6 separate regions of the Homo sapiens genome follow, and all the other regions are linked to region 1. The links are contacts of gene promoters, found by promoter capture Hi-C in blood cells and fetal thymus (Javierre and others, 2016). All regions are on one chromosome and are shown on one strand. Each heading gives the region's core, a stretch centred on a gene start or on the middle of the fragment in contact. The rest is flanking DNA. Distances are from core to core; before and after follow the strand shown. Region 1 holds the start of OSGIN2 (oxidative stress induced growth inhibitor family member 2). Region 2 has its middle 13 kb from the start of PIP4P2. Region 3 overlaps PIP4P2 (phosphatidylinositol-4,5-bisphosphate 4-phosphatase 2). Region 4 overlaps PIP4P2 (phosphatidylinositol-4,5-bisphosphate 4-phosphatase 2). Region 5 overlaps NECAB1 (N-terminal EF-hand calcium binding protein 1). Region 6 overlaps NECAB1 (N-terminal EF-hand calcium binding protein 1).

Evidence for each region. Contacts are between HindIII fragments. The CHiCAGO score rates a contact against its expected background, and 5 or more counts as called.
Region 2: a fragment that was not itself captured here is called in contact with the fragment with the promoter of OSGIN2 in region 1 in 7 of 17 cell types (M0 macrophages, non-activated CD4 T cells, neutrophils and 4 more); the score reaches 10.4 in M0 macrophages.
Region 3: a contact is called between a fragment that was not itself captured here and the fragment with the promoter of OSGIN2 in region 1, in 2 of 17 cell types (neutrophils and non-activated CD4 T cells). The highest score is 7.4, in neutrophils.
Region 4: a fragment that was not itself captured here is called in contact with the fragment with the promoter of OSGIN2 in region 1 in 2 of 17 cell types (neutrophils and monocytes); the score reaches 8.2 in neutrophils.
Region 5: a fragment that was not itself captured here is called in contact with the fragment with the promoter of OSGIN2 in region 1 in 1 of 17 cell types (naive CD8 T cells); the score reaches 6.4 in naive CD8 T cells.
Region 6: a fragment that was not itself captured here is called in contact with the fragment with the promoter of OSGIN2 in region 1 in 1 of 17 cell types (total B cells); the score reaches 5.4 in total B cells.

What each region holds. Positions count from the first base shown.
Region 1 is chr8:89,900,217-89,905,077 of GRCh38, forward strand. It overlaps OSGIN2 (oxidative stress induced growth inhibitor family member 2), which reads left to right and starts at 2,354. Exons shown (of 6, transcript NM_001126111.3): 1 at 2,354-2,621. The coding sequence starts at 2,578. LOC124901974 (a long non-coding RNA gene) reads right to left here and starts at 2,190. Exons shown (of 2, transcript XR_007061001.1): 1 at 1,803-2,190. It also overlaps the pseudogene RNU6-925P. RefSeq lists enhancers at 233-998, 999-1,764 and silencers at 2,058-2,356, 2,106-2,445, 2,476-2,925, 3,919-3,978. The HindIII fragment of the contact is 4,461 bases long and covers 1-3,825 here.
Region 2 is chr8:91,051,010-91,055,870 of GRCh38, forward strand. No RefSeq gene overlaps it. Among named protein-coding and RNA genes, the nearest start is that of PIP4P2, 13 kb to the left of the region's middle. The HindIII fragment of the contact is 4,163 bases long and covers 1-4,051 here.
Region 3 is chr8:91,020,227-91,025,087 of GRCh38, forward strand. It overlaps PIP4P2 (phosphatidylinositol-4,5-bisphosphate 4-phosphatase 2), which reads right to left. Exons shown (of 7, transcript NM_018710.3): 2 at 1,030-1,178; 3 at 1-37. Among named protein-coding and RNA genes, the nearest start is that of PIP4P2, 18 kb to the right of the region's middle. The HindIII fragment of the contact is 3,484 bases long and covers 1,073-4,556 here.
Region 4 is chr8:90,999,718-91,004,578 of GRCh38, forward strand. All of the region lies in intron 5 of PIP4P2 (phosphatidylinositol-4,5-bisphosphate 4-phosphatase 2), which reads right to left. Among named protein-coding and RNA genes, the nearest start is that of C8orf88, 17 kb to the left of the region's middle. The HindIII fragment of the contact is 7,791 bases long and covers 1-4,861 here.
Region 5 is chr8:90,950,020-90,954,880 of GRCh38, forward strand. NECAB1 (N-terminal EF-hand calcium binding protein 1) reads left to right here. Exons shown (of 13, transcript NM_022351.5): 12 at 1,094-1,185. It overlaps LOC105375634 (a long non-coding RNA gene), which reads right to left and starts at 1,098. Exons shown (of 3, transcript XR_928396.3): 1 at 1-1,098. The HindIII fragment of the contact is 498 bases long and covers 2,350-2,847 here.
Region 6 is chr8:90,930,805-90,935,665 of GRCh38, forward strand. NECAB1 (N-terminal EF-hand calcium binding protein 1) reads left to right here. Exons shown (of 13, transcript NM_022351.5): 9 at 3,500-3,553. The region is part of intron 1 of LOC105375634 (a long non-coding RNA gene); the gene reads right to left. Among named protein-coding and RNA genes, the nearest start is that of C8orf88, 52 kb to the right of the region's middle. The HindIII fragment of the contact is 4,109 bases long and covers 53-4,161 here.

The DNA of each region.
Region 1 (4,861 bases), core at 1,104-3,603:
GTGAAATAGGCCAGGTACAGAATGACAAACTCTGCATGTTCTCACTTATTTGTGGGAGCTAAAAATTAAAACAACGGAACTAACAGAGAATAGAATGATGGTTACAAGGCTGGGCAGGGTAGTGGGGAATTAAGGGGCAGAGTGGGGATGGTTAATAGGTACAAAAGTATAGACAGAATTAGATCTAGTATTTGACAGCACGAGAGTGACTAGTCAACGATAATTCATTGAACATTTTAAAATAACTAAGTATAATTAGATTGTTTGTAGCACAAAGAAAGGATAAATATTTGAGGTGATGGATACTCCATGTACCCTGATGTGATTATTACTTATTGTATGCCTGTATCAAAATCTCATGTACCCCATAAATATATATACCATGTACTCACAAAAAATAAAAATTAAAAATTAAAAGAATTATCTGGATTGGACTGGCATAGCTTTCAGGAATTTATATGTTTATTTTTAATTTTTTTGGTTACATAGTAGGTGTATATATTTAAAAATACGGAACGCTTCACGAATTTGCGTGTTATCCTTGGGAAGGGGCCATGCTAATCTTTATATTATTCTAATTTTAGTATATGTGCTGCAGAATTAAGCACTGCTTTTAGGAATGTAGGTACTTTATTTATTTATTTTTGAGACGGAGTCTCGCTCTGTCGCCCAGGCTGGAGTGCAGTGGCGCGATCTTAGCTCACTGCAAGCTCCGCCTCCCGGGTTCACGCCATTCACCATGGTCTCGATCTCCTGACCTCGTGATCTGCCCGTCTCGGCCTCCCAAAGTGCTGGGATAACAAGCGTGAGCCACCGCGCCCGGCCAGGTACTTTATTATTATTTTTTGATACGGAGTCTCACTCTTTGGCCCAGGCTGAGTGCAGTGGCGCGATCTCAGCTCACTGCAACCTCCGCCTCCCGGTTTCAAGCGATTCTCCTGCATCAGGCTCTTGAGTAGCTGGGATTACAGGCGCGTGCCACCACGCCCGGGGCTAGGTTTTGTATTTTTAGTAGAAACGGGTTTCACCATGTTGGTCAGGCTGGTCTGGAACTTCTGACCTCAGGTGATCCGTCCGCCTCGGCCTTCCAAAAGGAATTTAGGTACTTTAAAATGCTGTTATGTATGTTAACGGAAAAGTAACTACATGCTTCATTTTCAGAACCAACATTCAAATGAAATGAACGTGTCAAATCGACAAAAGCTCAAAAAAGAGAAAAACATATAATACTTAAAAGTGGTTAATATACTCTTAGATTGCATAACTCTGGGGCAGTCTGAGTCCTATGATTTTCTTTTAAGACCCCAAGACTCTAAAATACCTGCTCATCACAAGTTTGTTCAGTGACAACATTCAGTAAAACTTAACATTTGTTTTACAAAATTATGTTGAAAGATATAAACATAAACGTATATTTGAAGCACAAAAATAATTACGGCTTTTTTTGGAAGCGGAGTTAGACATTTCCGTAGAAAAGTAGATGCAATCAATCTCTCCTGATTTTTGTCCTCCCCACCTTTAATTTTTGACAAACCGAATAACGACACTCACTATTGAGTACTTTTCTAACTCCCTATTGCATCACAAACGCCCGCAGGGGCTTAAAAAGCAGCAGGGGTTCCTGCCCTTCCCCACACTGGCCGGTGTGGTCTGGGGCGGGCCTGATGAGCACCTGGATTTTCACCCGGCGTGCTGGTAATTCCTACACTTGTGGGTGTTTGAGAGACATGAAGAGGGGAGGATGACCTCTTCCCGGAAGCGGGACTTCCATAAAAGAAGCGTGGTGGGCGGGTCCCGGGCACCTGTGGTTTGGTGAGTCCTCCAGGTAACTGTGATGCGGGGGTCAGCGGGAGAGGCACCCGGAAGCTCCCGGCGTCTGCACCCCGGCAGCGCGAGGAAATGCCCAAAGGTGGGTTCTCAGGCGTGGGAAGCTCGACCCTTCCCGGGGTCCTCGGCGAAGTGGCCGAGGCCGCGCCTTACGCAGGGAACTCCGCCGGGCCATCTGGGTGGCCCGAGTTCGCAGCAGCTTCTCTTCCGCTCGTCCCTCGGCCCTCTCGACGCGCACCCACCGGCCTCACCAAGTCGCACGCAGAGGGGCGGCGGGGCGCTGACCGAGGTCTAGGTCTCGATTGCCGCCGGTCGAGCCGCGCAGTTTGCCTGCAGACCTCGGTCCCCTGCCCGCGCAGCCTCGGCTCCATCAGGCCCGGCCCCTCGCCCGGGCCGTGGCTCCACCAATCGCAGACTTCGCCCGCCGCAGCCGCACCTGCGAGGAGGGGCCCGCGCGCCGCTGCAGCCGCCGTCGCAGCGTCCCCGCCCCGCTCCGCCCCTATCGCGGCGCCCCGAGATCACCCGCCTCCGGCGCCTGGCTCCCTGCAGGCGAGGAGCGGAAGCCGCTATCTGGAGGCGGACTCCGGCGCCACAGAGCCGGGGCAGCCGCGGCAACGGCGAGGCGCGAGGCAGGGGCGCCCGGCAGACCCCGCGACCCCGAGCCAGCGGGCGCCCCGAGCGGGCAGCCTCGCCGGGGGAGGCGGAGGCGGCCACGGCGGCCGCGCTCGGGCGCCCCTCGCGCAGCGCTCCATGCCCGTGTGGTGCTGCCGCTGCTCCCTGGCCGGTCATTTCAGGTGACTTCCTCGCCGGGGATGGGAGGGGAGCAGGCGGGGATGCCGCGCTCTCGAGCTTTTTGGCCTGGCCCGGGCCGGGACCGGGGTGGAGGGCGAGCGCCTGGACCGCAGCGTCCTCCCGCCTCGGCCGTCCTGCCTGGCGTGGGGGTGGGGTGGGGTGCGGTGTGGTGGGGTCCTTGCTCCGGGGAGCCCTGCGCTGTTCCCTTTTCTCGCTCTGGACCGCGCGGGTCACGGGACTGCGGGATCGGCTAGGCCGGACTGAGTCGGTTACGGCGAGCTGAGACTTCCCAGTAGTGCAAAGTTTTAGTGAAGGGGGTTCTACGAAGTGCCTGCCTCCCTAAAAAAAAATTATTTCTTAAAAAGTCTTCTAAATAATGTAATGAGTGGAAGGAAGGTAGGGAACTACATTTCAGTGTCATCTAATCACAAATAGATTCTGCCTTGTTAAGATGTTAGCCATGGTAAGACGTGTGTGTTGTAGAAATTTAAAGAATGAGGCGGTTTTACAATCACCTTATGGGGAAAGGTTTTAGGGGTGATAAAATATAATACATTTCTAAAATAAAAGTATGTTTTCTAGATCTAGCACATTTGGTCAACACCTCAGTCATTGGTGGAAAGACCAGACACTAGAAACTGATTTTAACCCTGGGGTGAAGAATGGTTAAGCATAGGGAATACTTTAGTACCTTGCTTTACATATACTGATGTTCCAGAATAATTCTATGTAAGACTTCTTCCCTGGTAAAATATGAAATTTTGATCAAGCCTTCCTAAATAGTGGGTTTCATACAATTTAGGTAACCCATGAACTTGGATGGAAAGAAAGGTATATCATTTCACTAAATTTTAAAAACTAATATTCAGTTAAAATATAAGCAACAAATCACAGTAGTATCTGTGACTGTCATCAGTAGAGATCATAAAATATGTTTATATCACATTGCAGTTAATATAGAAATACTGTTTATACTTATTCAAAATTATAGTAACACATCACTGAATTTATTGAATGCAACAGAGAAGCACATATATATATCGCGTTTACTTTTTATGACTGTTTTAATAGAATTAGTTTTCTTGTAAATCCTGTGTATATTTAAGAACAGTATTCAGAGAAGAGGTTAAGAAGCGTCATCCTATAGTAAAAGAGATGTAAGGCATAGAGAAAGTTTGGAACTTCTTTTGTAACAGCGATAATCCAAGCTTGTCTAACCTCTCAGTGAGTTTAGAATGAGTCTCTAGGTTGTGGATATTAAGGAAAAATTGTTTCATATAATAAACTGCTTGATTTTAACTTTTAGGCAAATTTGTTGACTACTGAGACAGCGGTTTGAAGGTATCAGATTCACTATGGAAACTTTTAGGAAATAGGTTCCCCTAGTGAAACTTGTTAAACTAAATAAAGCCCATGAGAATCTAACATGCCTTTCAGAAAATATTGTGTGAAAGCTATTTGACACCTTTTGATGCACAGTGTAGGATTCATATTCTTTTGACTAATACTGGGTGTTGAATACCATTTGCTTCCTGCCGTGCACAGAAATTTGGAGTAGGGAGTGAAAACAAAGTATTTGCTATGTTTTGGTCTGGAGGGACAGAAAGAAAAACAAGCTAGCTGCCAAAGATAAACATTATGATTAATAAACCACACTTTTTATTGCAAAAACAGTTCTGTTGTGTCTAAAGTATTTTTTTTTTTAGTTGTTTACCAGCTCCTTCAGGAATATGTTTCTGATTTACCAGTGCTATTTCTCGAGCAGTTTCAGGTCAGTTCAGGTCATCCTGGCCAACATGGTGAAACCCCGTCTCTACTAAAAACTCAAAAATTAGCCGGGCAGGGTGGTGTGCACCTGTAATCCCAGCTACTCGGGAGGTTGAGGCAGGAGAATAGCTTGAACCCAGGAGACACGTTGCAGTGACCTGAGATCGCACCACTGCATTCCAGCTGGGCGACAGAGTGAGACTGTCTCAAAAAAACAAAAAACACACAAAAAAACACAGATTATAAAACAGGTTGTGACATCTATTGTCTAACATCTGAATGGATAAGTAGTGAGAGAACTGTCCACTAACTTTCCAAAGGAAAAAACCTCTTCCTTCGTGTTCTGGAAGATGAAGAGTGTGACTGACTTCATTTGTGGCTTTAGAACCTTCTTTCCATGTGGTAGTATAAATTTGGTAAATTTTAGGTTCATGGTTCCAAAGACTATAAAAATTCAGTTAGTAAAGCATTTCAT
Region 2 (4,861 bases), core at 720-3,219, 1.2 Mb after region 1:
CTTGGAGCCTCCAGAACTGTGGGAAAATTAATTTCTGATCTTTAAACTATGCAGTCTGTGGTATTATTTTGTAGCAGCCCTAGCTGACCAATGACCAATGTAATCTGCAAATAATAAGATTACTTTAAAAAAAATCCATTTAGCCCTTGGACACACACACACACACACACACACACACACACACACTTACTTCACAGAGAAATCTATTTGAGACCATAGAATTAGTTGATACATGTAAAAGTAACTTTAGGATGAGAAACTTCCCTTTCCGATGGTTTCAGAAACCAATTGGGTAAGAAACGTAACTATTATCTGTTTGGAAATTGGTATTTCCAGCACTTCCTCCAGTGAGATACAGAATCACATTCTCATTTATTTTATGCTTTTGATTCCATCTTGTCTGACTGTATGGCCTTTAAGTCAACCATCCCAGTTTATTTAACCAGTCTCCTATTTTTCAATGTTTCAGAATTTTTATAATATTTTACTATTCATTCATTTGGCAAATGTTTACTGAGCACCTTCTAGGTGCCTGGCACTATTTTAAGGGACACAAAATTCCTGACATCACAACACAGGAAGATAAGCAAAATTCAATTTACCAAGGATGTATATCAGATGGAGATAAATATTATTGAAGGAAATAGGAAAGGTGGGTGGAGGGAGCACATTGCTTTTTACATGGAGGGAATAGGATCAGCTTCACAGACAGTGAAGCAGAAATGTGGACGGTCAACAGCAAAGCCCTGAAGAGGAAGCATGCTTGGTTCGTGTAGGAACAGCAATGAAGTCTGTGTAGCCCGATGAAAGGGAGCAAGGAGAGAAGGGGTAGAAAGTAGATATTAGACCAGAGAAGTTTGTCATGGACTGCGATGGGGTAGATCACATGGGGCCAGTTGGGCTTTTCCTCTGAGATGAGAAAACTATAGAGCTCTTAAAGGCTTTTGAAGAGTGACCTTATTTGACATAAGTTTTAAAAGGATTACAATGACTACTATGTGAAAATCGGATTATAGGTAACAAAGGAGTGGAGGTTGAAAGAGGGATCAGATTCTGGACATATTATGAAGCTAGATCTAACATGATTTGCTCATCGATGTGATGTAGAATATGAAAGACAGAAATCTTTGAATACTTTTCTGATTATTTATTCTTGATAATTTTTTTGAATTGGAAGCCTAGATCAAAGACTATACCCATTTAAAAGTCTTTCAGATATATACTGTCAAATTGTCCTCTGAAACCTGAAAAAACATTTTTACACATTTTTTTTTGAAACAGCGTCTGAGACTATTTCTCAGCAGCATAGGAAAATAACATGGTATTATCATTATTTTTAATATTGACAGTTTAATAGGGAAATATGTTTTTGTATCTTAGTTTTATCCTTAATGATTCTGAATATTTAATATTTTTATTGGTCAATGGTATTGGCCATTTTTTTTCCACTAGGGAGTTCATCTATTTATCATTTAATATTTTTAATTATAATTCTTATTTAAAATTTTACTTACTTATTTATAAAATCCATTCTCTTTTCCTCCTGGAAACCCAGATAAGCTACATTTCTCAGCCATTCTTGCACTTAGGGGTAGTCATATGTCCAAATTCTGGGTAGTGGAACATCAGTGGAAGTGATGTAGACTACTTGTAGACCATGTAGGCCATGAAAACCTTCCTTGTATGATCCTCCACACTCTTTTCTACTCAAAGCTAAGTGGAAAGAAAGAACCCCAAAGGAGCCCACAGGAGTCACATGGTGAAAATGGCACAAGAAGGGAGGATCTTGGCAAACTAAATCACTACTTATAGGAGAGTTGCCCACTAAGAACACCGGTTTTGAAGTGTTGTAAGAAATATACTTTATTGTGTTAAGTCACTGAGATTTCAGGGTTTATCAATTACAGCAGCAGGTGTATTTCCTAACTATTAAAGAAATATATAGAAAGAATTGTAAGAATTTCTTTACCTTCATTAATTAAATATGTGGACCTTTTGCTCCATGGAGAAATGTAAAACTTTCTTCTTTGACTGGACACTGATCTATGTTTCCTGGTACTGAGAGACTGACCCACTCCTTTTACTTCCTTCTTTAAGCGAACAGTTCCAAGAACAGAAGGTAATGGAGTCAAACAGGTCAAATCACTCTGACTCTCACTCTCATGTTCTCTCTCACAGATACCTCTTGTCTAAAGGATTGCAATACCTTCTGACCAAAGCAGACAAACTGGCAACATTGTTAATTTGTCATAGAAAGCCTCTTTGTTTCCTGTTTTCCAGAAAATACTCTCTTTGGATATTCTCCCTGCTGCAACACCCTGTATGAAGTGCCCAACACCTGCAGTCTCAGACAACTTTTGAAAGTTATAAACCTGTAATAAATAAGGCGAATATTTTTTCCTAGTTTGTAGTTTCTCTTTCAATGTTTGCTGTGTTTAAAACATTCTTACTGTCTATGTGGTGTCTCTGTATATAATCTTTCTTTAGATTCTCTGTGATTTACAGCCCATGAAATGTCAAACTGTCTTCTTTTCTGATAGAATTCCTGTCCTCATTCTTTCTTGCTTCATGTTAAGCCCAGAGTACATGATACTCTTAAATTAAATGGCATTCAGATGTGTGCCATTCTACTCATTGTTCTTTCACCTTTAGTGAAAGTGTGGGTAGAGTGTTGTTTCCCACTTGGTTCCTCTCACACCTATTGAACATTCACGCTGAAGGCCGCTCTCCCTCTTTGGTCATCTGACACTTGATATGCCTCATGTCACTCAGTCTTTCTGAGGGATACCGCCTTGTTTGCCTGGACAGTTTGTTACCAGCCTCACTTGTCACATATTCTCACTGATCTCACCGATCACCCTAGCCACATTAGTCAACACTAACTAGTCAGACTAGCTAAACTGATCCTACTCAGCTGTCTCTAACAGTGGCCTGCATAATGGGTGGGGATTTTAATTTACCAATTACATATATATATATATATATATATGTATTATATACATTAGGAAGATGTAGTAGTTGCCGATGGCTGCCATAACGACTTACCCACAAACTTAGTGTCTTAAAACAATGCAAATTTGTCTTATAATTCTGAAGGTCAGAAGTCCAAAATGGTTAACCTTGGTCACTGGGTTAAAATCAAGCAGTCAGGAATTCTGCATTCCTTTGTGGGATATCTAGTGGGGAATCCATTTTCTTACTTTTTCTGGCCTCAAGAGACCATTAGCATTCCTTACCTCCTGGCTGACTCCCTCCTCCATCTTCAAAGCCAACAATGAAGCATCTTCAAATCTCTGACTCTGACTCTCTTGCTTTCTCATTTCACTTATAAGGACCCTTGTGATTATTTACATGGATAATCCAAGAAAACCTTTTCATCTCAGTATCTTTAACTTAATCTCATCTGCAAAGTCCCTTTTGCCACATGCTGTGGTTTGAATGTGTCCCCCAAAATTCATATGCTAAAATTTAATCACCAATGTGATGGTATTTCAGAGGTGACTCAGTCATGGGGGCAGAGTCCTCATGAATGGGATTAGGGCCCTTATAAAAGGGTTAGAGAGAGTGGGTTCATCCCTTTTTTGCCCTTTGGTTCCATCTGCCACATAAGGACATAGCATCCATTCCCTTCAGAGGATGCTGTAACAGGGCGCTATCTTGCAAGCAGAGAATGACCCTCACTGGGCACCGATTTGGCTGGCACCTTGATCTTGGACTTTACAGCATCCAAAACTGTGAGAAATAAATTTGTTTGTAAATAACACGGTCACAAATATTTTGTTATAGCAGCACAAATGAACTAAGACACTATGTAAGGTAGCATATTCACAGGTTCTGGGGTTTAGAATGTGGACATCTTTGGTAGGCCTTTATTCTACTTACCACAGAAGGATATATCGACACAATAACACAAAGGCAAGCCCCTTCCATGGTTTTTCTATGACTCTTAAATTTAGTCTAGTCATGAACTATTCAGTGCATATATTTTCTCAGAGAAAAATCTCAACTCTTCTTAATTTTTTGCTTAGTTAATATGAGTTGGTTAATATAAAGCTTTAAAATTTTAGAAGAAAGTAAAATATAGGCCAGGCATGAGGGCTCATGCCTGTAATCCCAGTACTTTGGGAGGCCAAGGTGGGAGGACCACTTGAGGCCAGAGGTTTGAGACCAGCCCAGACAACATAGAAGACAAAAAACTTAAAAGATTAAGCCAAGCGCAATGGCTCACGCCAGTAATCCCAGCACCTTGGAAGGCCGGGGTGGGCGGCACACATGTGTCCATGTGTTCTTATTGTTCAATTCCCACCTATGAGTGAGAACATGCGTACACCTACTAGGTCTTAAGCCTTGATTGTTCAGTCCTATCATGTGCACCAGGGAGAGGAAGAGAGCTAGTGTAAAAGCTGGACTCAGAGAAGAGCTGACCTTTCATATAGAAATGGGAACCTATTGGATGACAAAAGTAAAATGTAAGGGACATAGGGGATGGGGGGTAGAAGATAAGAAAGAAGAGAAATAAGAAAGTGAGGGAGAACAATATAATTAGATATTCATACCAGGGAAACAAAGGCATGACTAGAAAGGCAGAGGAAGGGTGAGCCAGAAATGAAATGTCGTATGTATGTGCATACAATTTATAATGCAAAAGATGCTTTGTATATAGATTCTCACTTCAGAGTAAACCTGTGTAATAAATAAGTGGGACAGATAATACTATTGAGCCATATATATCCAACCCTCAATTTCTTATCTCATGAAACATCTCCACAGGTTTATACCCAATTATACCACAATTGAGACTGGTTTTGCTAGAGGTATCCTAGGAAATAATAATTGGTTTGAAAGGGAAAGGTGGGGTATC
Region 3 (4,861 bases), core at 1,565-4,064, 1.1 Mb after region 1:
TAACATATTTCTTGCCTGTTGGGGGGTTTTTGATTGGCTGGATAAGGGAAGAAAATGCAAACACAGCAATTAACCAAAGTACAGATTGTCAAAGTTTGTTTGTGTTTAAAAAGGAAAGGATTCCATTAAAACTAATGAAATATATTGCTTTTGTAACTTAAGGTTTTATTTTATGATTTTTCTATAAAACATATGAAGTCAAGTATTCATGTTTTGTGGTCCTTCAAGACACAATAATCACTGGCTGACTTTTTTTAGTCTTTTCTAAAGAGAAAAAAATAAAACATCAAAGATAAAATTAATATTTAATTGCAGATTTTGAGAGATCAAAATGTAATATATAAAGCCTAACTATGAAAGAAATATATTTCATCTAAACCAGTGTATGCTTTACCAGTTTATTACTTGAAGCTATAAAAATACTGCTGAAAATTTAGTTGCTCCCCAAAGCTCAATTTTTAAAAAAGGAAAGGTGTTATTCAATATTTTAAACATTCCTAAATTACTATCAACTAAATTGAATAAAATGTCAAACTATTTGTAAACACTTTGGCACAGATGCTAATAATAAATGCATAATCACAAAAGCCCAGAAAAACAATAGTGACATCCTACAGACATAAAATAACTTCAAATAATTTTCCACATAAATAGGGCAAAGTTTACATCTGTAATGAAGTTTAGTACACAATATTTTCATTTTAATGAAAACAAGAATGAATGTAGTTGTGATGTGGATAGATATTGAAAGTATTTATACGTAACTGCCATGCTCAGTCTAGTTTTTGAAAGTAAAAAGCCAAAAGGCATTATATTTAAATTCACCATGAAATTCTCTTAATGGGGTTAGCTTTAAACACAGTGAGGTATCCTATGATGAAAGAGAGACAGAAGAAAAGACAGGAAAAAAGATTACCATATTTGTATCCAGCCCACATATACTTTTAAGTAACATTATTGAAGTACTTCCTTTAGGAATAAAATGTCAAATAACAATTTATATTTTTTCTAATGGAAATCTCCACTTACCGTAGCTTCATTGCAAACTGTGCACTTAACCACATGCTGGTGAAGCTTGCCATCCAAATTGATTAGTGATTGGCACACACGGCAGTTTATTACTGGAATACCACTGGCGTCTGGACTGGCAATGGCTGTATATGGAGGTGGGAGCTCCGCTGAAAAGATATTAGTCACTGAATCAGAGTCTTGGAGAAATTACTATGGCTGGTTTGAGTATAGAGGCAATATAAGTAAAGAAGAAACAATCAAGATTTTCCCACGTTCTTTTATTTATTTTTCAAAGCTAGCCAATTTATCTTACTTTTAGAGCACAAACATCCATGAGACTCTTATCAAGTAAAATAATTCTTAACTCTGATAAAATCTAAATCATGTTTGCCTAGGTCTATCCCAATAACCCAGTTTCCTTTTACTAATCTATACTCAAAATGTCACTCCATTCCTATTAGTAAATTCATACAGTCTCTAACAGGAGAGTGGTAATTTATGCCTACAATAAAAATTTTACACAAGTGATCTGATTCCCAGGAAATAAAAATGGTCGATGAAAGCAAAGTTTTAAAATTGCTTATCCATACATATAAATTATGTAGCTGTCATGCTCTGTCTTTATATTGGAACCAGTATAATGACTGCTGGCTATGACAAGAATAAAACAAGGTGTTGGAGGAAGTCAAGAAGAAACAAAAATGAACCTAAGAAAACTAAACTTCTCAGCATGGAACAAAAATGGGAACCATGCTAATTTCAGACACAAAACAAAAATAAAGTAAATATAACAATTTTTAGTCTCAAAATTTACCTACCATTAAAAATGTAAGAAATGCACCAAAGTGTTTATGAGTAAAAAAATGTAGTATGTGGGATTAAAAACTTCAAAAACCATAACAACAACCACCACAAAAAGAATGGGGAACCAGATGAAACAAGTAGCAAAATGTTGATAACTGATGAATATAATGACATGGAAGGTCATAGTTTCACACTACTTTTGTGTATGTTTGAAAATTCCCATAATACAAAGACACACACACAGTGTTTTTTTTGAGAGTCCTAAGGTTGACTCAGTGAGTGAGTGAAGGGTGGAGGCCCACTTTCAAAATCAAGTATCTACCAGAAGTGTATATTTGTTACAAAAGTCTGAGAAAAGGAATCCTGATATACTACTCTGGAATGGGATTTCTAAAGGAGACTGCCTAACCCCTTTCTGTAACTATCTCAACTACAGGAATAGAAGACTTTTCCAAGGTAAAGTTTTGTCTTGGGACATTTAGAAAGGGCCACACTCTAACATATGATTGAAGCACGAAAGAGAACTGGTATCTCAAGAGGCTTCTGTAACACTATAAAATATAATCACAATAGCTAAGCATAATAAGAGCTATTTTTGAAATAAAGGTTTTCTATCCACTGTATTAGGTCCTAAACTTTGTGATATTTTAAAAAGAATTAGAGCATAAAACATTTTGGTATGTTTAAAATACACATATTTCTACCTGATCCTTGGGTTATAATATAGGATTTTTTTCAGACTGCTAAGGATTAGCAACAAGTGGTATTCGTTCAAATGATTCATAAGACAAATTTCTGCAGCAGCCAAGGCTCTGAAAGAGGCCACTTTGAAATGACGATATGCTTATGTTTCTGGGAGGCTTATAACAGAACACTGCCAAACACTGAAATTCAAAAGAAGCTGTACATGTCTTAAATTATAAAAATAATTTTAAATCCATGAAAAGAATTTGAGCGTGATCCAGAGTGACCTGTAATGTATTAATCAAGAAGAAAAAAACATGTTAAAGAAACAATGAGTCAACAATATACTTAAGGTCTTGCAATTTGCAGATTACTTTGTCAGATCTCAATAAAGACATTATTCTTGGGGAAAGAATATGTACCTCACTAGAAATTCAAGACACACTGCCTGGTATATGATAATGAATATTATTTTAATAATTATTTGCAGTAGCATTATTAACAAAAGTTGCTTCCTCTCTGGCCTTTTCCTTGAGTTGTACAGTAACATTACATAGTTCTCTCGTAATCCCAGGTCTCTATCTTACACAGTATGATAGAAAGGAAACTTAAATGCAAGACAGTTTTATAAAGAAAACAAGGGCATTAGGGGGAGAGGAGGAAGTGACATATTGCTACACTACATAAAAGGACACCAACCCATACACTCCTCAGCTTTGCTCAAAGAAATCTCCTAAGAAAATTTCAGAGGGTGATCTTAACAATCATTAAAAGGGCATTAGAGCCAGTAAAACCCTGTGAATTTTTCTTCTAAGATTTGTACTATATAATTTTTAATCTGCCAAAAAAAAAACGCCTTCAATGACAGAAATATGCTCAAATCTACTCTTTTGGAGGCTTGGGAAGTGGAGGGACATGGACAGAACAAGCAGTGAAGATTATAAATCTAATATAAGAGAGACCATAAGCTCCACGAGGCCAGGGGCACATCTGGTTTGTCCACAGCTACTTCACCAGCGCTTGTCATAATGCCTGGTCTATGATGATGCTTACTAAATGTTTATTCAATGGTTGAATTAATTAATAAATCAGCGAGTCACTAAAATTTATTAGACATATCTATTTGTCTTGGAAAAATAACACCAAGTATTAGGTTGCTGCAAAAGTAACTGCGGTTTTTGCTACGACTTTCAAATAGCAAAAACCGCAATTACTTTTGCACCAACCTAATACATTAACCCTACTCTCCTTGCAGAGGAGCTAAGGTTCTAGCAGGGGAGTGCAGCTTGATGGAAAACAAGGGCTTCTTTTATATAGAAGACAACTCTCTCCAAATAATGCACTGAGAGAGGTGAAGTAGTCAGGGGACACTGGCCTGGCCCACCAGATAAATGGAATCAATCCAAGAGATCAATAGAATGACAGATGCTGCAGCCTAATTGCCACAATAAACAGTGCTTCCTGGCCTTTCATTTCAATGTTCTATCCATTACTTCAGCCTTAAACTGATTTAGACAGATTATTTCTTGTACTTTTGGCCTTTCCCTTTCTCTCAGATTTTACCTCAAGGAAACATTTACTTGTAGCTCCATCTCCTCTTATATGGGACTTGTAATTCTGGAGATTCCACAGTTAGTAAACCTACAATAATTAGAATAAGATTATTAATTTAAATGATTAATAATTGGATTATTATAGATTAAACCTATAATAATTAAATTAACTTAGATTTATTCATTTTGTCTCTTTTCACTTTGGCATAATCATAGCTCAATACAGTCTTGAACTCCTGGGCTTAAGTGATCTTCTCACCTCAGCTTCCTCGGTAGCTGGGAATACAGGCATGCACCACCATGCCTATATTTTCACTTTAAAACAACCGATCACCAGTATCCTACCTATTTTAAATTTCTGCACTACATTTAAAAAGTCCACTGTAATCTCAGAACTTAGGATCATTAGATGTTGAAAGTCACAAAAATTCCTCATTTTGGAAAAGTCTTACTTGTTATCTAAACAATGGTCATTTTTCTCCATGGGGTTTTTCTAAATTAAAAAGCTTTTTTCCTCCATGTGAGCAGTATTTGTTAGGCCAGTAGTCCTTAATCCTAAAAAAAAACTCCCTCAAAGCTCCAGAATAGAACAATGTTAGAAATTCAAACAATCTTTGGAATTATGAAGTCTAATTTCTTTATTTTACAAAGGAGAAAACAAACCCAGAAATTCTGACTTTTTAAGGGTTATACACAACTTCAGCAAAGCCAAGAGCTGACTCCTGTTCTGGAGATCGCTCCACAATAACAGCTGTCTCCTTTAATAAATAATGACTTAATACAGGGAAAATATTTAAGGACCAATGGGG
Region 4 (4,861 bases), core at 1,146-3,645, 1.1 Mb after region 1:
TGGCTAGTGTTTGCCTGGTATGTCTTTTCCTTTGGTTAGTGATTTATGGTTGTATCTTTTTCTATCCTTATACATTCATTCTATGTTCTAATATTCATGTGTTCCTTCCTCAAATTGTATATAGCTGTTCTTACATCTAGTCTTACCATTACTGTTAAGTTTTACTAGCAAGATTAGTCTAATGATATACATGGACTATTTCTGACACCTTATTTTGGCTTTCTACTATTCCTGTATTTTCTGCTTTTCTACCTTTATTTCCAGACTTCTTTTATATTGACCATGACTCTTTCATTTCATTTTCCTCTTATTATTCTGAAAGTTTTACAATTTATTTCATTCATTTGGCAGTTGCACTTAAAATTTTAACTTTCATATGTTTTAAAAACTAAAGTCAATTATTAAATCCATCTTCCTGATAAATATAAAGATTTTAGAAAGTTTTAACACCAAACATTCCACTAGCATCTTAATGCTACTGTTTTCCAATATTTCAGTTTTATTGTATTTTTGTTTCTCAAAACTTATTAGCATTAATATAATTGGTACTGTCGTTTTGGCTATTTTATACAGTCAGTGTTTCTGGTGAATTGTTACAATTTCTTGGTTTACCTTTCCTTCCTGCACTGCAGAAATTTCTTCTGGAATATTTGTTCATATTCCCTAGTTCATCATTTAGCAGTTTTTTTTTTTTTTAGTAAGGGTACCAGGATGGTAGATACCCTGGGTTTTGTTTGTAAGTTTGTTGGTTTTGCTTTTGAAAATATACTTATTTTACCTTCATTATTCTTTGATGGTTTAGATAGGTGTATAATACCAGTTTGACAGTTAATTTCTCTTAGTATTTTTGATGTATTTTAAAACTTGTTTTCTGGCTTCTATTTTTGCTGTTGAGACATTTGCTGACAGAACTGTTATCTTTTTCTTATTGAAAATATGCCTTTTGTCTCTCTGCTTTTAATTACCTTCTATTTCTCTTAGGTTTTCTACAATTTCACTGTAACACATTTACTTATCCTGCTTGGATTTCATTGTTCTTTTTGAATATAAAAATTCATATCTTTCATAGATCTGAAAATTATTTGAGATTATCTCCTAAAATGCCATATCCCATTCTTTATTTGTTCCTTCCAGATCAGATATATAATTGGCATCTTAATAATATATTTTCTCTTAATCTTACATTCATCTTTGTCTCTCTATGCTAGATTCTGGGTAATTCACTTACCTCTATCTTCCAATTCACAACTTTAGTCTTCACCTTTAGCTGATCTGTTCTTTAAACCGTACGTGCATTTTAATTTCTGTAATAATTTCTAGAAGTTCTATTGTTTCTTTCTATATCTATCTGGTTATTTTTTGCAAATTTCTATTTGAGACAATTATAGATTCACAAGCAGTTGTAATAAATAACACATAAAAATACCATGTACGTTTTGCCCTATTTCCCCCATAGTAAATCTTGCAAATTATAATACAATATTATAAACAGGATATTAACATTCATATAATCCACCAATATTCAGATTTCTCAGGTATATGAGTATGGATTTTTCTTTAATTTTATGCAATTTTATCACGTTTAGGTTCATGTATCTATTGCCACAGCTAAAATAGAGAACAGTCTATCACTGTAAGGATCCTTTTATAACCACACCCTCCTTTCTGCCCATCCCGCACCCTGTGCCTGCCACACCATCATTAATCTGTTCCCTATTTCTACAATTTTGTCATTTGAAAAATGTTACATAAATGAAATCTTACTGCAGGTAACCTTGTATGGCTAAGTTTTTTTTTTTACTCAGCATAAATTCAATTCATCCAAGCTGTTGCATGTGTCAAATTTGCTACAAACACTCACATATACATTTCTGTGAGTACCTGGTAATTTTTAAATAGTCTTACATGTTTTCTCTTATTTTTATTTTAAAACATCTTAGGCATAGTTTTAACATACTCCATATTTAATAATTATAAATCTGAAGTTTTTAGAGGTCTAATTATGCTGTTTGTTGTCAATGTTGATTATGCTTCTGGAATCTTGTTTTCTCCTATGACTAGTAACTTTTGTTGAAAACTTATTTTGGCAGATCTCAATATAAAAAAATTTTGGCATGCATAGTTTGGGGGTGCTTTCCTACATACAGAACTTTCATTTGCTTTTCGCAGGCTCCCTAGACTGATACTAACCCTAAACTTTAAGTCAGTTTCTGGAACTAGGTTTTCCTAGATCGCATAAGTGATATAAAAATATAAACCTAAATTCACTGTTCTTATAAATTTTTTCCTCTGCAATCTTCCTTTTCTGGTTGATTTCTTTTTCCTAACTCACTCTTTTCCAGGGGAAGAGTACTTTAAGTACTTTATTGGGAGGAGGCAGTATTCTAACCCCGCTACCTTGTGTGAGGCCAATGCCTTCTCTCTCATTCTTCCAAGGCTGTAGATCCCTAGTGTTGGCATATACCTTCAGGATAGTCCTGGTTGTCACTTAATCTTCATTTTTGGTCCCCAACTGTCATATGAGCTGAGCTATGCATTTAAAAGGATGATTTTTACAGCTAATTGGTTTTTTATATTACTGCATGTGAAAGTCAAGGGCATATACAAAAATGTGGACAGTGAATCTCCAAGCTGAAAAGACCATTCAATGCTCTCAAACATCTAACTATTCACTCTTCAAATTATTAATCTTTCGCTTCACAAAAACACCTTATGAAACACTAGGATTATGAAGAACACCTGGAAAATGGTAGTGTAGCTAGTGCTACAGGAATTTATAAGGGGAAAAGGCGGCAAACAATGTTCTTTACATTACAATTTTCAGACAAGGCAGCCAGGGATGGCTTTATTACACAAGACTTAAGGATAGCTTAAAATGTGAATAGATGGGGGAGTAAGTCATTTCAGCTGATTACATTAGAATTGTTCAGGTGTGAAAAGAAAATTTGTTCAAGGAATAAGCAGCAGAATAACCTTTGTGCCACAGAATGTTTCTACAGATGAAGAGTAGAAGCAAGGGATGTTTCAGCTAATTTTTTAGGTTAAATAGGTGTTTTCTAGGTAGACAAGGGCAAGGAAAGGAGTAGCCAGGCCATTCTAGGTCTAGCAGGATAAGACTCAGGAACAGAAGAAAGAAACTGCATAATATGTTTGTGGAAGTAGAAGTGCAATTTGTTGGGGCTAGGAAATAACTAGGTTGTGTGTGTAGAGACAGAAGAAAACAAAGATATCCCTAGAAAAGTTAGGCAAAGACTAAAAGAAGTTTGGAGTTTGATTTTGGATTTTAGGCAATGGGCTGATAGTAAACCATATGGTACATTTATGCCAATAAGTAAAAGAAGTCCTCAGAATAATTTATATGAAACTAAATATACAAACCTAAAATAACAATGGAAATTGTACCTCTTCGGGTTGTGCAGCATACAACTTGCACAACTGTATGCCATGGCTAAGAAATTGGGAGCCACTAAAAGATTTGATGCCAGAGAATCTAAAATGACGTATGCATTTAGGAACTACCACTCTAGTAAATGAATAGATAATTGCAGTATTGGAGGTCAAGAGATAAATTAGAAAACCAATGCAATAGTCCTGGTGAGAGATGCTGAATACATGAACTGAAGTAGAAATCATGAGAATAAGAGGACAGAATTAAAATGTCAAGGGACATAATTGATAGGATATTACCATTTAAATATGGAGAATGATAAAAAATACACTAATATTTCTTGGTTGGTCAGTTGGACAGACAGGATAACATTCATTAAAATAATATATTCTTTTTCTAGAAATAATGTAGGGGGTGAAAAAGAAAAACATAATATATTTATCAATACACATGGGAGATTGGTTTGCAGAGTAAGGTGGGAATGCTGGGTCAGGTTGTGCTTGAAATGACCATGAGATATCAAGTTGAAATAATTCTAGGCTAGATAGTGAATAGAGATAGTATATTTAAATCTGAAGCTCCAAAGAAATATCTGGGGTCATTTAATGGCATCTAAATGACATAGGAACATAAGAGAAAACCCGGATAAAGTGCGGTCAAGTTCCAACTTTGGAAAATAGCAAAATTTAACAACTTGGAAGAGAAAGTAAAGCCAACAAAGAAGAGTTGTGAGAAGTAGGAGAAACCCAGGAGAAAGCAGTATCTGGAAACCAAGAAAACAAACTTTAAGGAAAAGAAACCATTGTATTAGTCAGGGTTCTCCAGAAAGCCAGAACCAACAGGAGATAGATAGATAGATAGATAGATAGATAGATAGATAGATAGATAGATAGATAGATAGATAGATGAAATAGATAAGAGGCAATTTATCAAGGAAATTGGCTACTGTGATTATAGAGGCTGAGAAGTCTTGCAACAGGGGATCTGTAAGAGTCCCTGGACTGTTGGCAGTGTGGCTCAGTCTAAGTCCAAAAGCCTCAGAATCAGGGAAGCCAATGGCGTAATTCTCAGTCTGAGGAGGAAGGTCTGCGGAGCTGAGGGACCACTGGTGTACGTCCCAGAGTCCAAAGGTCAGAGGGCCTGGAGTTCTGATGTTCAAGGGCAGGAAAAGAGTGTCCAAGTTCCAGAAGAGTGAAAATTGCCTTTCCACTGCTTTTTTTTTTTCTATTGGGCCCCCAGCGAATTGGATGGTGTCCACTCACATTGAGGGCAGATCTTCTCCATTCAGTCCACTGTCTCCTCTAGAAACACCCTCTCACACATATCCAGAAGTAATGCTTTACCATTTCTTTAGACATTCCTTAATCCAGTCAAGTTGACACCTAAAATTAATCAGCACACCCAGGATGATCAATAGTATCAAATGCTACAGAGAAAACAAGCAGGATGAGAATCAAAATATGGAATTTATTA
Region 5 (4,861 bases), core at 1,349-3,848, 1.1 Mb after region 1:
AATTCTACACACTTTAAAAAATGTATTTAATAGCTTAGAAACCACTTCTCTCTTGAAGTACAAATACTTTTGGTAATGATCCCACTTTGAGTCTTACCATTTTACTGATGTTTTCAGATAAGAAGATATAGATAGGGGGTATGAGTGTCTAAAGCTGGTGAGGGTAGTGGTGGGGGTGGAGAAAAAGGATGGACAAAAGTGAGGTGGGAAAAAAAGCTTTACCTCCTAATTTTTCATAGGATAGTCTGTGCAGTTATTTTATTTTACAATAAAACTACATATAATTTTTAGAGTCATTGCAGCCCAATACCTTCTAAATGTCTTTAAACACTAAAAATAAAGTGGAAATTCAAGACGTTGTCAAAAATTAAAATAAATCAGCTTCTTTAAAAATTAAAATAATTACTAATAGCAAACAAACATATAATTTTAAAATGGAATGAAAGAAATGTTTGCTCTTCTGAGAGTATATAACAATTCCTGACAGTTTAAAATGGTACAGAGAATACAGCTCTCTAAATAAGTCCATGTTTAGGGTGTTAAATATGGTGATGGAAGTAATAGAATACCTGGAAATTCAGTTGATCCATGTTTCACCTAAAAGTTTTATTTTTGTGGCAATTTTGAAGGCACTTTGTGCTATAAGGAAGGCAAAATGACACCAACAGTATTTCAGCCATAGAAGGAAACGAGGTAACTTATTCGACTCTGCTTCCAGGCCAACACTTTCACATAGCTTTTTAGATTTATTTTTATTATCTAGAAATGTAAAATATACAGTCTGTCTTATTATCTATCTTGTTTTTAAACAAGATATATTTAAATTTGGTGCAATAAAATCTACTTTTTATCCTCTAAAAAAGTAATGTTCTCCTGGTTTAAAACCTTTTTAAAAAAGTTTCTGATGACAATTATTAAATTACTCCTGAGTCATTTTTGAAAGCTGAACAACCATTAAAAGAAGCTTGTATCCAGGAGCTTATTTAATCCAAATCATCCCAAACTTTGCCATCTTGATCAAATTTGATCTCTGCTGTACTTGGGAAGATTGTAAATAAAAATGCACAGCCTTAACCTATAATTATTTATACAGCCACCTTCAGACAAATTATAGCAAGACATTCCAAAGAAGTAATGTGGATTTCTTGGAAACTCCAGAACTCACATCTACAATGCTAGTTCCTGGTAATTATCCTGGGTTTACAATGCTTCTGTGTCCTTTTGTATTTTTGTTTGTTTGTTTCGTAAAAGATAGTATGCTCTTTCCTTCTATATTTTATCAATGGTACTCTCTTATTTATTTCTTTATATATTTTATGATTTGAGATTGGGGGGAAGAAATAAAAGATCTATATATTTGTTCTATTTTGTCCTTAGTTGACCCTATTTGTATTCCCAGCTATACTGAACCATTAGTCATTTGCTAATCATATTAACAAACTTGAAGTACCACCAAATCATATTTCAAAAAATTATTCAAATATTTTATCATATTGTAATTTAGTGTACTGGATACAATTTGTTCATCTACCCATCCAATTACTGATTAAATATATATTTACTGAGTATTAATATGTGCTAGGCATCAGGGTGTTTAGCCTAATTTACTGGTACTGATTGAGCTCCATTTCTGAACAAGCACTGTGTTGGGAGCTACAAAGGGTACAAACTAAAGGCAAAATCCCTACCCATAAAGTGCTTTCTGTCCAGCTTCACAGAAACGTTTGCAAAGACAAATTTTAGCAGAAAAAAAAAACCCAGCTAAGGGAATAAAATAGCTGTCACCATTAGAGATAATATGTGTTTTGTGGACTTGGAGAAGTGATTACTTCTTTAATAGTTTTTAAGAAAATGACTTGAGCTAGTCCTTAAAAGATGAGATGTGGAAAAGTAAAGATGGAGAGGAAGGGTCCTTTGGTAAATTTGGACATGAACAAATGCAAGAAGTGTGAATGTGCTTTATAGGTGCAAAGGTGTCACTAAGGCATAAAACTTACAGTACAAGTGGAGACAGACGAGAGAGTAAGAAGTGAGGTTGAGAATGTCATAATGAGGCTTTTGAACAGCAACCTGGAGTAATTTAAAGTTTTGAAAGGGATGGTGACATGTTCTAATCAGTAATAACTGACAGGAGGGAGAAAGGTGGATGTCATGGAGAGGAGAGAGATTAACCAATTAGGGCAATAATCTAGGCCAGGGAAGAAAAAAAAAAAAACCTGCACCAGGAAATAGCCAGAGTTTGGGACTCCAGTTGCAGATGTAATTTTCAGGAGTTAACCACAGCAAGATGATTGTTGAAGCCTGGGATTGGTAAGAAAGTATGTAGGTAAGAACAAAATATCTAAGAGAAGCTTGGGGAGATGCCTTTCTTTAAGCAGTGGAGTATCAAGGAAACCAAAAGAGTAAAATGCAAAGATACAGTGCTCCTGGGGATGAGTGGGGGATGTATAGTGTTATGATGTTATAAATGGGAGGAAGGCTGGGCGCGGTGGCTCACGCCTGTAATCCCAGCACTTTGGGAGGCTGAGGTGGGCGGATCACAAGGCCAGGAGCTCGAAACCAGCCTGACCAACATGGTGAAACCCCACCTCTACTAAAAATACAAAAAGTAGCTGGGCATGGTGGGGCATGCCTGTAATCCTAGCTGCTCAGGAGGCTGAGGCAGGAGAATTGCTTGAACCCAGGAGGCGGAGGGTTGCAGTGAGCCAAGATCGCACCACTGCACTCCAGACTGGGCGACAGAGCGAGACTCCATGTCAAAAAACAATAATAATAAAATTAAAATAAAATAAAATAAAATAGGGAGAAAAATCTTAGAATACAACTTCTGTAAATATGACTGCTGCAAGCTTTGTACATAGAATGCAGGAAAGTGAGATCCACATTTTATTTATCTTCACATTCCCTACCCTATTACAGTATTACTATAGTACAGTATATGGCAAGAAGAAATTATTTCCTAAATGAAGGAATGAATAGGACTTTGGCATCATCATAAATATATTGGTCTTCGGTCAAAATTTCCACGAAGTCCTGACACTTGTAATTTTTGTGTCTGTCATCACACCCATTTCCATCTCTCCCAAACCAATGTGGAAAGAAAGGAACAAAGCTTGTTCTTATTAGTGTCTTGAGTCTTTCCAGGACAGAAACAACCTGATCAAAAATAGAGTAGGAAAAGAGGATAGAACAGGAGGCTACTGAATTATCAGTGAGGGGGAAAATGCTATAGCAAGAATTGAAAATGTGGACTAATCTGATAGTTTTCTGACCCAACTTTATCATTATCTGGAATTATTTTCTAGACACTACTAGTGTCATTGGCACATATATTACTCTTTCTCTCTCAGAGCATTTCCTAATTTAGAAAGAAAAACTGACTACAGATAAAACTGGATCAATTCTTGTTCTGTGAATCCAGGCTCAATACAATTTAATGTCTTTTAATTGCTGCCCTATTTTGTATTAATTTCATGTTACATTTAATTTCAACAATGATTACTGGAATTTCGTAGAACAAGAGGAAAAGTTAGGCTTGATTTTTGACACAATTTTAAAACCTACAACATTTTGACATTTATTGGGACATCCCACCTTATTTTAAAGTTTTATCACTGTGACAGCAGGCCTATTCCAGTAAGCAGAAGCTAGCATATAAATATTATTTATGGGTTTTAATGGCCATATAACTTCTAACACTATTTTTAAAAACCAGTTTTGTACATTTTGTGTTATAATGGTTATGAAGATTAAAAATAAAAATAATTAGCTGGGCGCTATGGCTCACGCCTGTAATCCCAGCACTTTGGGAGGCGAAGGTGGGCAGATGACCTGAGGACAGGAGATCGAGACCAGTGGCCAATATGGTGAAATCCTCTCTTTACTAAAAAATACAAAAAATTAGCCAGGCATGGTGGTGCATACCTGTAATCCCAGCTACTTGGTAGGCTGATGCAGGAGACTCACTTGAACCTGGGAGGCAGAGGTTGCAGTGAACTGAGTTCGTGCCAGTGCACTCCAGCCTGGGTGACAGAACGAGACTGTCTCAAAATAAATAAATAAATAAATAAATAAATAAATAAATAAATAAATAAATAGCTGCACATATTTATACCTAAAATTAAAATCTGAAAGAAAAAAAGCAGATATTACATTTAAAAATGCAGTATGAATAAGTTTGTATTTCTAATTTTACTCACAAATTATGATTTCTGGTAAGATTGCTTTTTATGGTTAAGACTACTAAGTGGTTTACCTAAGATACATCTAAAGTAATTAAGCAACTAAGCCAGATTGCATCCAGATATGAAAATATACACTATAATATATTCCAATGACCTCTCAAGTATAAAATCATTCAAATGAAGCATACTGGAATATGGCAGCCCAAACCACCCAGACAAAAGGAGTATATAAACTTGGTCTGTGGAGCAGAATGTCCATTGGTAATAACAGAAAAACCTACGGTTATGGGAAAACAGGATACAAAAAAAAAGATCCTATTGCCAGCAAATTACTTGAACAGTTTTGAAAGCAAATTTCAATCCTTTCCATTTATCTGTTTCTTACAGCATTCCACCAATCATACATCTTTGCCATTGGTTTGTTTTCAGGATATCTATATTCACTGGGATAAACATTTATAATTTTAACATACAGATATACTAAAATATTATTTATAACCTACTTGCTTATACCCAATATTTATGAGATCCTATGTGTATAAATATATGGTATTTATAAATATCATATAGGTATAAATATATGTATAATAAATCACACATGTATTTATATGTATATTATATATTATACATAAGCTGCATATATTTATAAATATATGTATACATATGCATATATGTAT
Region 6 (4,861 bases), core at 857-3,356, 1.0 Mb after region 1:
TTAGTTTTCCAATATTGGAAGATCAAATCCAGGACCTCTATTTGCAAACTAAAGCTTGTTAAAACATAAGGATTCATTTGCTAAATAAGTCCAGATTCATTTAAAAATACAAATACCTCTTTTTAAAGTGGTTTTGAATTTTTGGACAAAACTGTCTTTATTTGGTATCTGAAATTTTTATAGTTATTTTTAAAGGAATGGCTCAAACTTATGCCTTTTTTTCTAACTTTAAATCAAAGTATGTGACATTTCTTTTTTTTCTAGACTTTTTTTCTCCCTCCCTTCCTATAAAAGGGTTTCATTTTGAGGACAGTGTATAAGAGGTTTGCTAAAAGTACAATGTGATGGTTTTCAGCATGGGGCTCCAGCTGTGTGGAGCTCAGTGTGAGCTGTCTTAATGAATGGAGAAGCAGTGCAAGTTCAGTTTTCTTCTACAACTTATTCTGTACTGTGCTGATTAGGTTTTTAGAGAAAAACTACCCAATTGCCAAACAGTGGCTGAGTACGTCATTTCACTGCTGAGTACCTTGTCTCCTGTAGTTGTTAACACTAGTTTTGATCTTCCCATTAGAAGGAAGTGTACCTGCAGTGGAACATATGTTATCTTTTCTCTGCATTAAGTATTTAAGATAAATTCTTCCTGCACTGAAACCAAGCCCTATTCTATGCATGTAGGGGAATATAACACTTAGCAATTTCTATAAATAGGTTTCTTTAGGTATTCCTTGTATCCATTTCAGCCTCCATGAGAATTTATGGGAATATACTGAGGTTATGTCTTGTGTTTTGCTTGATCCCTGTAGAAAACACCTTTAATGGCTGGGTGCAGTGGCTCACGCCTGTAATCCCGGCACTTTGGGAGGCTGAGGCAAGTGGATCACCTGAGGTCAGGAGTTCGAGACCAGCCTGGCCAACATGGCAAAACCCCATCTCTACTAAAAATACAAAAATTAACCAGGCGTGGTGGTGTGCGCCTGTAATCCCAGCTACTTGGGAGGCTGAGGCAGGAGAATCGCTTGAACCCCGGAGGGAGAGGTGGCAGTGAGCCGAGATCGTGCCACTTCACTCCAGCCTGAGCGAAAGAGTAAAACTCCATCTCAAAAAAATAAAATAAAATAAAATAAACAAAAATAAAAAACAAAAAAAAACCCCACCTTTAATGTTAAACAAAATAACAACAAGGACAACAATAAAAGCTCTTCATTCTTCATTAAGTCCTTAGTGTATCATCAGATCACAGGACATTCTCATTTGAAAGGATGTAATTCAGGATGTCACACTCATACAACTTATTTTAAGTTTTTCATACCTTAGATCAGGAAAGGTAGAACTGAAATTGTACCTTAGTTAGTGTCAGGGAAATAGTGGTCAAGGAGATTACTAGGCTACAGTTTCTATCTGTGGAGTACTTTTTAGTTTTCAATTCACATCTGTATACATTACATATAATTTTGCCCTCATAGAAAAGCTATGATTTAGACAGGGCATTCATTCAGCCATTCATTTATTCTACATTTATTGAGTACCTACTGTGTGTCAGGTACTATTCCAGCAGTGGAAATACAGCAGTGATGAAAAGAATATCCTTGGTCTTTGAAGAGACAGACCAAAAAAACAACAAATCCATGAAACAAGATAATATAAAATAATGGAAAGTGCTATAAAGAAAAAGTAGAGCAATATAATACAGATAGGGGGTTGAAAACTCCAAATGAGTGGTCTGGAAGTTCTCTCTAATAAGGTGATATTCGAGTTGAGATGTGAAAGTCAAGAAGAAGGCAGCTATGTAAAGATTTAGGGATAGAGAATTTACAGCAAAGCAGGAAAAGTGAACCCCACAGAAGTTAAATACCTTGCCGAAAGTTCCACCACAAAATAACAGCACAGCTAGAGCAACATAGCTCTATTATTAACAGGCATATGTTATTTCAGATAGTCTGGATTTCTACAGTTTTCAGTTTACTTCTTATTTATTTGAAGGAGTTATTCTACATAATCCTCATTGGAAACAATGCTAGGATAGCCATTCACAGAATGAAGTTCTCAGAGATGAAGCACTAGGTTTCACTGGGGACATTAGGACATTAGCATTATTCATTGGTCATCACAGAAGACATTAAGGTCTTAATTCTCAAAAGAAGATATATAAAGGGCCAACAAACTATGAAAAAATGCTCAACATCACCAATGATCAGGGAAATGTAAATCAAAACCACAATGTGATACTACCTTACTCCTGCAAGAAAGGCCATAATAAAAAAATTAAAAAATAATAGATGTTGGCATGGATGTGGTGAACAGGGAACACTTCTACACTGCTGGTGGGAATGTAAACAAGTACAACCACTATGGAAAATAGTGTGGAGATTCCTTAAAGAACTAGAAGTAGAACTACCATTTGATCCAGCAATTCCACTACTGGGTATCTACCCAGAGGAAAAGAAGTCATTATACAAAAAAGAACTTGCACACACATGTTTATAGCAGCACAATTTTCAGTTGCAAAAATGTGGAACCAACCCAAATGCCCGCCAATCAATGAGTGGATAAAGAAATTATGGTGTGTATGTACGATGGAATACTACTCAGCCATAAAAAGGAATGAATTAATGGCATTTGTAGCAACCTGGATGGGACTGGAGACTATTATTCCAAGTGAAGTAACTCAGGAATGGACAACCAACCATTCTATATTCTCACTCATAAGTGGGAGCTAAGCTATGAGGATGCAAAGGCATAAGAATGACACAGTAGACTTTGGGGACTCAGGAGAAAAGGGTGGTAGGGAGATGAGGGATAAAAGACTACAAATCGGGTTCAGTGTATACTGTTCAGGTGACGGGTGCACCAACATCTCACAAATCACCACTCAAGAACTTACCTGTACAAGCAAATACCACCTGTTCCCCAAAAACCTATGGAAATAAAAAAAAAAACTTTTTTTTAAGACTTCACGGTCTTTATAGGAGTTCTTCACTTTTAGCAAATGTCAATCGTATTTTCATTTACTCTTTAATTCACTTTCTATTTAATAAAGAAAAATTAACACCAGGGTATAAATGTATTGTAACAATAGACTAATGTTTATAATGATGTCCCAAGAAATGTAGAAATGTGGCAATACTCATTCATAGCAAAATAAAGCAGACTGTTAGGCTTAGTCATTCTGTTTCCTTTTCTTTCGTTTACCTTCCTACCCTTTCCCTCTCTGTTTTAATGTACCTTTCTCTTCCACTTTGCTCTCTAATGGCATTCAAGAAGTAAATTTAAAGCAATACTTTGAACACGTCTAAAACAGCTTCTTACAATTGATAAATAAGTACAAAGAGTCTTTATTGGAACAGCTGAGTTTTAAAAAAATCAGTATTATTTCATCTTTAAGATAATGAAGTTCTTTTGGTTCAATGTTAGCCATGAGAGAACTATGATTTGAATATATGGCATTGTTTTAAATGATATAATTTTTTTTCTTTTCTGCCATTTCTTCCTCTTATTGAAGGATCTCAAACTCGAACCACCAGAAGAAGAAATTATTGAAGGGAATACTAAATCTGTAAGTATTTTTATCAGGTAAAAATGTTAGAAATATATTCTTTAAAAACATAATTTAATTTCTTCAAAAATTAGTTATCTCAATGAAAAATTGAAAAACCAAGTAGTCGTATTTCATTTTATAAGATTCAGTAGTGTTGTTTCTACATTGTGATTTGTGTAAACCTAATACCTACTTCACAGTTTTTGCAAAAGTACCTGGCATGTAATAGGTGCAAAATGAAAATTTTATACATGTATAAATCAATGAGTTATTGAATAATTGAAGGAATATGACTGGCAGAGAAGGGCAACATTTAAGTTGTATCATAAACATTTTGTAAATCCTGCTATGTTGTACACTGGATATACCTGAGCGGAAACCTGGTTCTGTTCATTATTATATTTCCAGCATTTAGCCTAGGGCCAGGCACATTGAAAATGCTCAGAAATAATTTTTCAAAGAATAAATTGATGCAAAAGGGAACATTTGTATCCCTAGGGACAAGATGTCCATCCAGAGTGGCAGCAGTTTTTGGAAACAGAAGAAGAATGGACAAAGGGATCCTAAAAAGTACATTAAGATGCAACAAAAAGAAGTTAGCAAATAATTAAAAGCAGTACATACCAAGCTTTATTATTTACTTTATGTTGAGGCAAACATGCATAGTACATTTTGTTTCAGGAAGTTGGATGTTTATATTTACATTTAGTGAAAATTTGGATTTTAAAATCTTGGGTAACTAGGAGAAAAATCATTTTTTAATCCCTTAGATGTATTATATACTTTATAGATGTCAAAGGATTGGTCACACATTTATATGAAACCAAGGTAGGAAATAACCTTTCATCTCTGAATTGTGCACAAGCACTGACTACATGATAGATGAAGTTGAGACCCACCTATGTGTAAGGCTCCTGCCCATCTGTCCAAACTCATAATCCAAAGGGATTCTTCAGAGGAAGCTTTGTGGGAGTCTCAGAAAAGTTTAATCATGGCTGCTACTGTTAGAATCCTATAGTTATGAATACTTTACCCCGATAAGCTAGATTTGTCACTGCATGTCTAGTGCTTTTATCCCTCCAGAGACAGGGATGTAGTCTGTGTTAATTCCTCAAGACCCCAACATTTTAAAATGGTAGACTTTCATGGGAAAGAGAGGAGAGGGGTGTTGAGCACATATACATACTAAGAATAGCGGATTTGTGCAGTCCCGGAGGCACAGGAATTGTTAACCTTGTGATCATGCATCTGTTATCTTCTCGTAGGTTTGCATAGAGGAAAAACTATACTCCAGACAAAGGAAAAACAAATATAACTTATCTAATG